Linked DNA regions of Homo sapiens: region 1 is linked to region 2. The links are contacts of gene promoters, found by promoter capture Hi-C in blood cells and fetal thymus (Javierre and others, 2016). All regions are on one chromosome and are shown on one strand. Each heading gives the region's core, a stretch centred on a gene start or on the middle of the fragment in contact. The rest is flanking DNA. Distances are from core to core; before and after follow the strand shown. Region 1 has its middle 18 kb from the start of MIR8070. Region 2 holds the start of EIF4G2 (eukaryotic translation initiation factor 4 gamma 2).

Region 1 (3,926 bases), core at 757-3,256, 990 kb before region 2:
ATGTTAGTTGACTACTTTTCTAGAAAAGAAGTTTCTAAGGCCAGGCACGGTGACTCACTCCTGTAATCCCAGCACTTTGGGAGATCCAGGTGGGCAGATTGCTTGAGGCCAGGAGTTTCAGACCAGCCTGGACAACATGGCGAAACCCTGTCTCTACTAAAAATACAAAAATTAGTTAGGTGGGTGGCACATGCCTGTAATCCCAGCTTCTTGGGAGGCTGTCACAAGAATCACTTGAACCTGGGAGGCGGTGGTTGCAGTGAGCTGAGATTGTACCAGTGCACTCTAGCCTGGGCAACAGAGCAAGACTCTGTCTCAGAAAAAAAAAAAAAAGTTTTTTAAAAAAGTAATAATCCTCAGTGTGGCTGTGTTTATTTATAGGAAATAGTTGAGTGAATAGTAAAAAAATTGTTCCTTGATAGTTTACAAAGAGGGATTTTTGGCAAATGTAAAAATGACTATGTTTTGGCCGGGCATGGTGGCCCACACCTGTTATCCCAGCACTTTGGGAGCCTGAGGCAGGCGGTTCATGAGGTCAGGAGATCGAGACCATCCTGGCCAATATGGTGAAACCCTGTCTCTGCTAAAAATCCAAAAAAAAAAAAAAAAATAGCTGGGTATGGTGGCATGCACCTGTAGTCCCAACTAATTGGGAGGCTGAGGCAGGAGAATCGTTTGAACCCGGGAGGCAGAGGTTGCAGTGAGCCGAGATCGCATCACCGCACTCCAGCCTGGCAAGAATGAGACTCTGTCTCAAAAAAAAAAAGACGATGTTTTAATTTTTTTCTAAAAGTTTTGGTACCTCTTTCTTTTCTCTTCTCTTTTGTTTCCCTGTTTTCTAAATTGTGTCCATTCATTCATTCCAATACAAAATATTTACTGAGTGCTTATTATGTGCTGTGGAAGTGGTGCACTGTTCTTATCCCCAATTTCTCCCCAATATCTCACAACACAGTAGAAAAAAATATCAGTGTAGTAGGGTTTTGCCTTGAAATAAAGCTATCTTCCATTTACGGGCCAAGTATGCCAGGGCATGTGTGGAGGAGTGGGCTTATCTATTTGCGCTAAGGTCTGAGGGAAGGTGTTTATCATAATGGAGATAATTTGGGTCAAAAACACTACCTCATCTGTGTAAAAGAAGAAGCATTTCTGAGTCCAGGATTTTCTTAGATTGTTCATGGACCCAAGCTTGCGTCTCTAGGAACATCAAAAACACAAGGGGACATTGCTTTGGAAGAATGTACAACGTGATGTTCTGAAGGCCAGGAGCAAATCCCCTCCAGCCCTGCAGGCAGGTCTTACCTATAATGAGCACGCACACTGCTGCAGAGCCAACCCAGGACCCACCTGTTGTGAAAGGCATGGTTAGCTCACCTGGCATTGTCAATCTCTGGAAATGCAATGAATGGAATAGGACTGCTCTGGGGACAAGTCTTGGTACCAACCTGTTCTTCGCGAAGATGGAGCCGCTGCCAGTGTGACTCCAGGACTGATTTCCCAGTTAGCTAAGGACCTTCTCATGGTCTTGTTACCTTAATCTCTCCTTCCGACCAGCTTCTTATTCAGCTCTGTTAGTACTCATTCCTCCCCTGCCTGTTCTTCTTCCACAAAGAGTCCTCAAGTCCTTGGCTCCTGTTTTTGTCCCATCCCACAAGTACTGCCCTGCACATTTTTCTTTGTGAACTCACATGGTTAATTATCTGAGCCACTTCCTTGTCAGAACTCTGGGTTCCCTCACTTTCTCTCATTTGGCTGGACTCATCCATCAGAAAACTAACTCTGGATGTATGAGACCTCTGTCTTCTCAGCTCCTACTTCTGGGCTGCTGCTCCTGCTGCTAGAAGAAGTGTAGATTACACACACTGTGCCACTGCGATTAGCTCCTCCTTCAAGAGCTCATTACTTGCCTTAGCCTTCACCACCTTCCTCAAGCCCTATACCACCCCTGAGTTCTCATCCCTGGCATGTGGTTTTTCCTCCTAGGGACATTGAGGCCATTTCCTTACTTCCTTTCTCCCTTTAATTTGCTCTTATTGAACTTTGTCCTTGCCAATCCCCTGAGATCTCTTTCCGTATGCGTTAATAGCATCCATCTTGTAAAATCTGATGGTTGGTTCTCAGTCCTCTTTCAACTTGAACTTTTAGTGATATTTGACACAGTTGGTTCCTTTCCCTTTCTTGACCACTTTCTTCATTTGGTTATGGGGACACTGCAGAAGTCTTTGACTTCTTTTCACCCATTGGCTGTTCCATCTTATCTTCTTCCCTAGCTCCTCTTTTTTTTCTGACGTCCAAATATTTGAATGTCTCAGAGCTCACTTCTCAGCCTCATCTCTGCTCTTTCTTACTCAGTAAGAAATCTCAGCTGGTGTTCTGACTTTAAATGCCAACTATAGGCTGATCATTCTGGAATGTGCATTTCTATATGCACTTTCTGTCCTGAATTCCAGACTTGTATTTCCAGCTGCCTACTTGGCATATTCCCTTGGGTCTCTAGTAGACATCTCAAACTCCACACGTCCAAAACAAAGCTCTTGATTTCTCCATGTCAAATTGCTCCTTCATGGCTTCTCCATCCTTGTTGCCCAAGCCAAAATAGAGAGTCACCCTTGATTCGTCTCTCTCTTACCTTCCACTCTACTCTATCAGAAGAGGTCCGTAATCCATTTACTTTGCTCCAGACCACCATCATTTCTCAGTGGAACAACTATCCCTGCTTTCGCTATTCCCCTGCCTTCATTTTTCATACAGAAGCCAGGGAGATCACTTAGCAACTTACATTAGATAAGGTCATTCCCTTGATTAAAACCTTCCACAAGCTTCCCATGATACTCAAAATCTAGGTTCCCAAACCTTACTTCCAAAGTCCTGTGTGATCTGGCCTCTGGCCGATCTCTCTAATCTTACCTTATTCCCTTTTCTCCTTTGCCCATTCTATTCTAGCTTCACTGGCCTGCTTTGGATTTTTTCAACCTCGTAAGCCACTTCTTTCCCTGATTTTCACATGGCCTTAGAAAGTCTAAATGACATCTCAGAGAGGTTTCCCTGACCACTCATTCTAAAGGAGCCCGACACCTATCACATCACCATATTTTAATTGTCTGCATAACACTTATCTCTGTTGGATATTTTTCTTGTTTATTTGGTATTGTCTGCTCCAACTAGAAGGTCATCAGAAACTTTGCTTTGTTCATTCATGTATTCTCTGCACAATTTGACATGGGTCATTTACAAGATGATTGTATACGTCAGTCCAAGGCATGGGAGAATAGGCTGGAGATGCCGTAGGCTGACACCTTATGTAATACTTCACCAAGACCTGCTGATTTTACCTCCTAAACATTTTTCTATTCCAGGGCTGTCCCTCCATATAAAAGAGATGGAGAAGGCACAAAGCTGTCATCATTTCTTTATTACTTCAACAGTTTCCATCTGGTCTTCCTGCCTTCAGTCTTATTTTCTCCGATCCATTCTCTGCCACAGTTCCTAAAACATAAGTCTGGCATGTCACTCTCCTGTTTAAAACTCTTCAAAGGCTTTCAGTCATTTGCATGATAAAGTCATTAGCCTAACAGTATATTCTGTGTTGTGATAGGTGGTCTCTGTCTCTATGTCCTTCTTGTTTTATTCTCCAAGAATACCCAGCTGCTTGTAGGGCACTGTGAATACTTTGCTTTCCCTGTTTCTGTGTCTTTGCTCATGTGCTCCACTCTGCCTTGGACTGTCTGGCCTTTAGAAGCCATGTGACCTTGGGATATCACTTATTCTTCTGAACCTTAGTTTCCTAATAATCATAATTCTTCACAGGGGCAACGTGAGGGTCAAATGATATCATGTACAGAGAAAAAAGTACAATGCCTGTTGTATAGCATGTGCTCAAAAAATTGCAATTGTATTTTTCAACAATGTTAATGTTGACACTAATA
Region 2 (4,080 bases), core at 1,102-3,601:
AGGCCCAGACGGGTGGATCACTTGAGGTCAGGAGTTTGAGACCAGTCTGGGCAACATGGTGAAACCCCATCTCAAGTAGAAATACAAAAATTAGCTGGGCGTGGTGGCACATGCTTGTAATCCCAGCTACTCAGGAGGCTGAGGCACGAGAACTGCTTGAACCCAGGAGGTGGAGGCTGCAGTGTGCAGAGATCACACCACTACACTCCAGCCTGAGTGACAAAGTGAGACTCTGTCTCAAAAAAAAATTTTTTTTTCTAAAGGTTTTACTTAATGTTTTTATTTAATCTTTGCTAATTGTGAACCCTTCTGCAATGGGCTTTGCAGGTACGATTTCAACTTCAAATCTTTCTATTTAAGTGAGAGAAAGGTAATTGAAAGATTGTTTTATCAATATTTTTACTTTTTCTACCTTAGGTTATTCCCTTCCAGGTCAATTTCTCACATAAACTCATATCTGCAAAGCCCATACCAAAAGGGTTCCCAATTAGCAAAGATTAAATAAAATATTAAGTAAAACCTTTTTTAAATTTTTAATTACTGAATTTTAAGTGTCTTAATTATAAGAACATCCGACTTTTACGGCTAGGTGAATATTCTCTTTGAAGTCTAGACAATAGTTTTTGAATACTACTCTTCTTAGTAAACTAATGTATTCGTTCATTATCAGATAAATGGAATGTAAACCAGTTATGTAAAAATATCACATATACTAATGCATTTTTCCAAACCTTAAAGCCCTACAGAAATTATAAAGAAACATTATTCTCGTGTTATCATGAAGCTAGAAGGGTCCAAAGAAATACAAAGTGAAACCTCTTGTATTTAAAACAAAACTTGCACCACCACCACCACCCCAAAATAGTTTTTTTTTTTTTTTAGAATATCTCTTCCAAGTTTTAAAGTTCAAGTAAAATTGATGTAATAGCAATAAGTGTAGTAACAGTAAAGTAGGGAATGGTGACTATTCTATAGCAAAGATCTACAGATGTTGGAATTGTGTTAAAAACCTTCAGAGCCACACCACAGCCTTCTATTACATTTAAATGTCGTAGGAAAAACTGCAATTTTCCGGAAAATTGTATTAAGGACCAGGTGCTCTAATACCAAGAGCTGTTTTGACACATCAAAGGTTAAGTTTGGGTCTTTGAAAATCCTGCCTCTTACTGAACACTTTAAAAGTCATTCATGTTAAAACACACACATTCTTGCCTTTGACTATACACTGTAAAAGTACTACATGTTAAAATGGAGATGGGGACATTTTTGTTGTTTAAGTTTATGGAAGTATGACTCCATTTTAGTATAGCTACAATGTCGCAAACGATGGAATAAGGTACTCATCAATACATTACCTGGTAAGTATAAATAGTTCAACTTGCCGGCTTTGAAAAGCTTAATCCTATTTCTTATGGTGAACCTTAAATAAAATGAAAATACACAACTGACAATGTTTAACGTGCACTTAAACAAACAAAAAACAAAAAAAAACAGGAGCTAGCAATTCGAAATCCTCCAAACACCCGCGGAAGTCTGACACACAGGGTGTTTTCCTCGGTGACCGCCAGCCGGACATTCCTATGGGAAAAGCAGCTTCTTCTGTGCGGTTCGAAGAAAATCAACCCCTTCCTTTCATCACTTTCTCATTCACTCTGCAGGGGGTGGGCCAATAAGGAGCTGAATGAAGCTCCCCTTTGGCATCCGGGCGCACGTCTCGCCTCCTCCCCACTACTTTCTGGGTTCCCTAAGGCTGCCGAAGCCGAGGACCTGGAGCCGGGTAGTGTCCCGGCGCTGCGCCCGGGGGCTCCAGGCCTCAACCCGAAGGGCTCAGCCCCGGGAGAGGCCAGGCACGCGAGGGCAGCCACAGCTCCAAGGGGCGCCAAGAAAAGCAATGCTCACTCGCCACGCACAGGGTTCGGGGGAGGTAAGGGTGCGTTTTCTTCCCATATTCCCGGTGAGAAAACGAGGTCGAGGGAAAAGGGGATGATACAACTGGAGCATGGCATATGGACTCAGTGAACAAAGGGACTGGAGCAAGAAGCAGCAGCCACGCCAACGCAGACTCAAAAGGGCTCTCCGGCTTTACGCACGCAACCCTCATCTCGACAGCGCTCGGCGCCCCTTACGCCACTGGCTCAGCCTCAGAGACTTCGCGAATATGGCTTTGCGCACTGCGGCGGGGCTGCGCCGCAACCGAGCTCAGCCCTGTGGCTCCTCCTCGCTGCCCTGCGCGGATTGGTGGCAGACGGCAACCGGGCCGCTGATTGGGCGGCGAAGGAGCCATTCGGGGAGACTCTGGTGGGTTCGGCTGCCCCAAGAGTGATAAGTTCGGCTTCAGACACGCCTTAGCGCCAGCAGTGAGTCGGAGCTCTATGGAGGTGGCAGCGGGTACCGAGTGGCGGCTGCAGCAGCGACTCCTCTGAGCTGAGTTTGAGGCCGTCCCCGACTCCTTCCTCCCCCTTCCCTCCCCCTTTTTTTTGTTTTCCGTTCCCCTTTCCCCTCCCTTCCCTATCCCCGACGACCGGATCCTGAGGAGGCAGCTGCGGTGGCAGCTGCTGAGTTCTCGGTGAAGGTGAGTTGAGCCGCTGCCGCCGCCGAGTGGAGCGCTCTAAAATGGCCGCCGTCCCTGGTCGCTTCTTCTCGAGTGGTACAAAATGGCGGCCGCAGGCGGAGCCGGGTGGGGCGACCCTTTTTTAGCATTTCCTCTGCGCTTCAGATACCTGGAAAGTCTTGGCTTTTGTTCTCTCTTCCTGTTGCTGACGGAGTAGAAGGAAAACGTCAGTGTTGGCCAGGCCGCCGTGCGGTCATGGCCGGATGGCCGACGCCTGCAGGGACGAGGCCGTGGCGGACCGAGGCACGGCTGTGCTCGGACGGCGAGGGAGCGTGGCTCGGACCGCTAGCGCCGTGGCGGGAGGCACGCGGGCCGGCAGGGAAGGCCAGGCCGTTGGCGCGGGACCAGGGAACCGCAGGCGTCCCGGAGCCTGGCCTCCCGGCGGGGAGGTGTGTAGGACCTGGAGTCGGCAGGGGCTGCCCTTCGTCGGGGAGGAAAGAGAGAGTGATGATTTCTGCCCCTTTTGTCAGCAGAGGAGGCCGTGGCGAGGCGGTTGTCAGTCCCGGGGGGATTTATGGTGCAGGAGGGGGCCCGCTTGGAGGCGGCGGGTGGGCAGGAGGCCGCCTTCCTGCTTGGAGAACAAAGAGCTGGGCGCCGGGCTGGCGGGGGTGGCCTCAGCTGCTCCTCCCCGTCGAGCGACCCGGGCCTCGCGGGGAGGTTGTCGGAAGCACTTCCCTAACTTGCGCCTGGGTGGGAGGAATGCTCCGCTCTTTTGTTCCCAGGAAGGGAAAAACGGGGCGGAGGTTCCTGCTGCCATGTTGTGGCCCTGGTCTTCCGCCTGCAAGTGCTAGTCCTGTACACCCGGCCCCCTCTCGCGCGTCTTTCCACGAGCTCTCCACGGGGAGGAGGCGAAAGGGTGGACAGGGGAAAACTGCTGAAGAGCTTTCGGAGAGACCTCATCTAGTCGCTGGCCTCGTCAAGGCAGTAAAAATTCCTAGGGCAGACATTTTCCACGTGATGTTGCTCGTGTCTGTAGTTAGACTTTTCTATTGATCTCAGTGCTCAGTTTTAAAGATAGTAGAATGTGGCTTTTTCAAAAGATTCGTTCTGAGCCGTTTAAAATGCTCTTGTGTTCTACGAAGTCTCTTTGCATCCTTGAACACCGGGGAATTTCCAGGTGGCTAAACAAAATGTAATTGTCAGTGTTTTGAGTACATTTTAGGTTAGTCTTACAGATCTGCAATGCAGTGACAGTGCCAGGATCTGAAATACGTTGTAATTGAATGAAGGCTTATAGATCTGTATGTTAGCAGTGTCTAATTTTGGTGCTCTTTCTCGTTCCAGGTATTTCATTTCTCCTGTCCCCTCCCCTCCCCACCCCATCTATTAATATTATTCTTTTGAAGATTCTTCGTTGTCAAGCCGCCAAAGTGGAGAGTGCGATTGCAGAAGGGGGTGCTTCTCGTTTCAGGTACTTGTAGATTTATTTTGGGGAATCCTTTTGAAAAGGCCAGTCTCAAAAAGTAGTT

Evidence for each region. Contacts are between HindIII fragments. The CHiCAGO score rates a contact against its expected background, and 5 or more counts as called.
Region 1: a fragment that was not itself captured here is called in contact with the fragment with the promoter of EIF4G2 in region 2 in 2 of 17 cell types (naive CD4 T cells and total CD8 T cells); the score reaches 6.3 in naive CD4 T cells.

What each region holds. Positions count from the first base shown.
Region 1 is chr11:11,799,393-11,803,318 of GRCh38, reverse strand. No RefSeq gene overlaps it. Among named protein-coding and RNA genes, the nearest start is that of MIR8070, 18 kb to the right of the region's middle. The HindIII fragment of the contact is 1,631 bases long and covers 1,191-2,821 here.
Region 2 is chr11:10,807,197-10,811,276 of GRCh38, reverse strand. It overlaps EIF4G2 (eukaryotic translation initiation factor 4 gamma 2), which reads left to right and starts at 2,351. Exons shown (of 22, transcript NM_001418.4): 1 at 2,351-2,572; 2 at 3,896-4,022. The coding sequence starts at 3,982. LOC101928053 (a long non-coding RNA gene) reads right to left here and starts at 1,980. Exons shown (of 3, transcript NR_120540.1): 1 at 1,911-1,980; 2 at 1,356-1,420. RefSeq lists enhancers at 1,267-1,873, 1,949-1,998, 2,509-2,768, 3,499-3,578 and a silencer at 2,179-2,228. The HindIII fragment of the contact is 4,879 bases long and covers 1,398-4,080 here.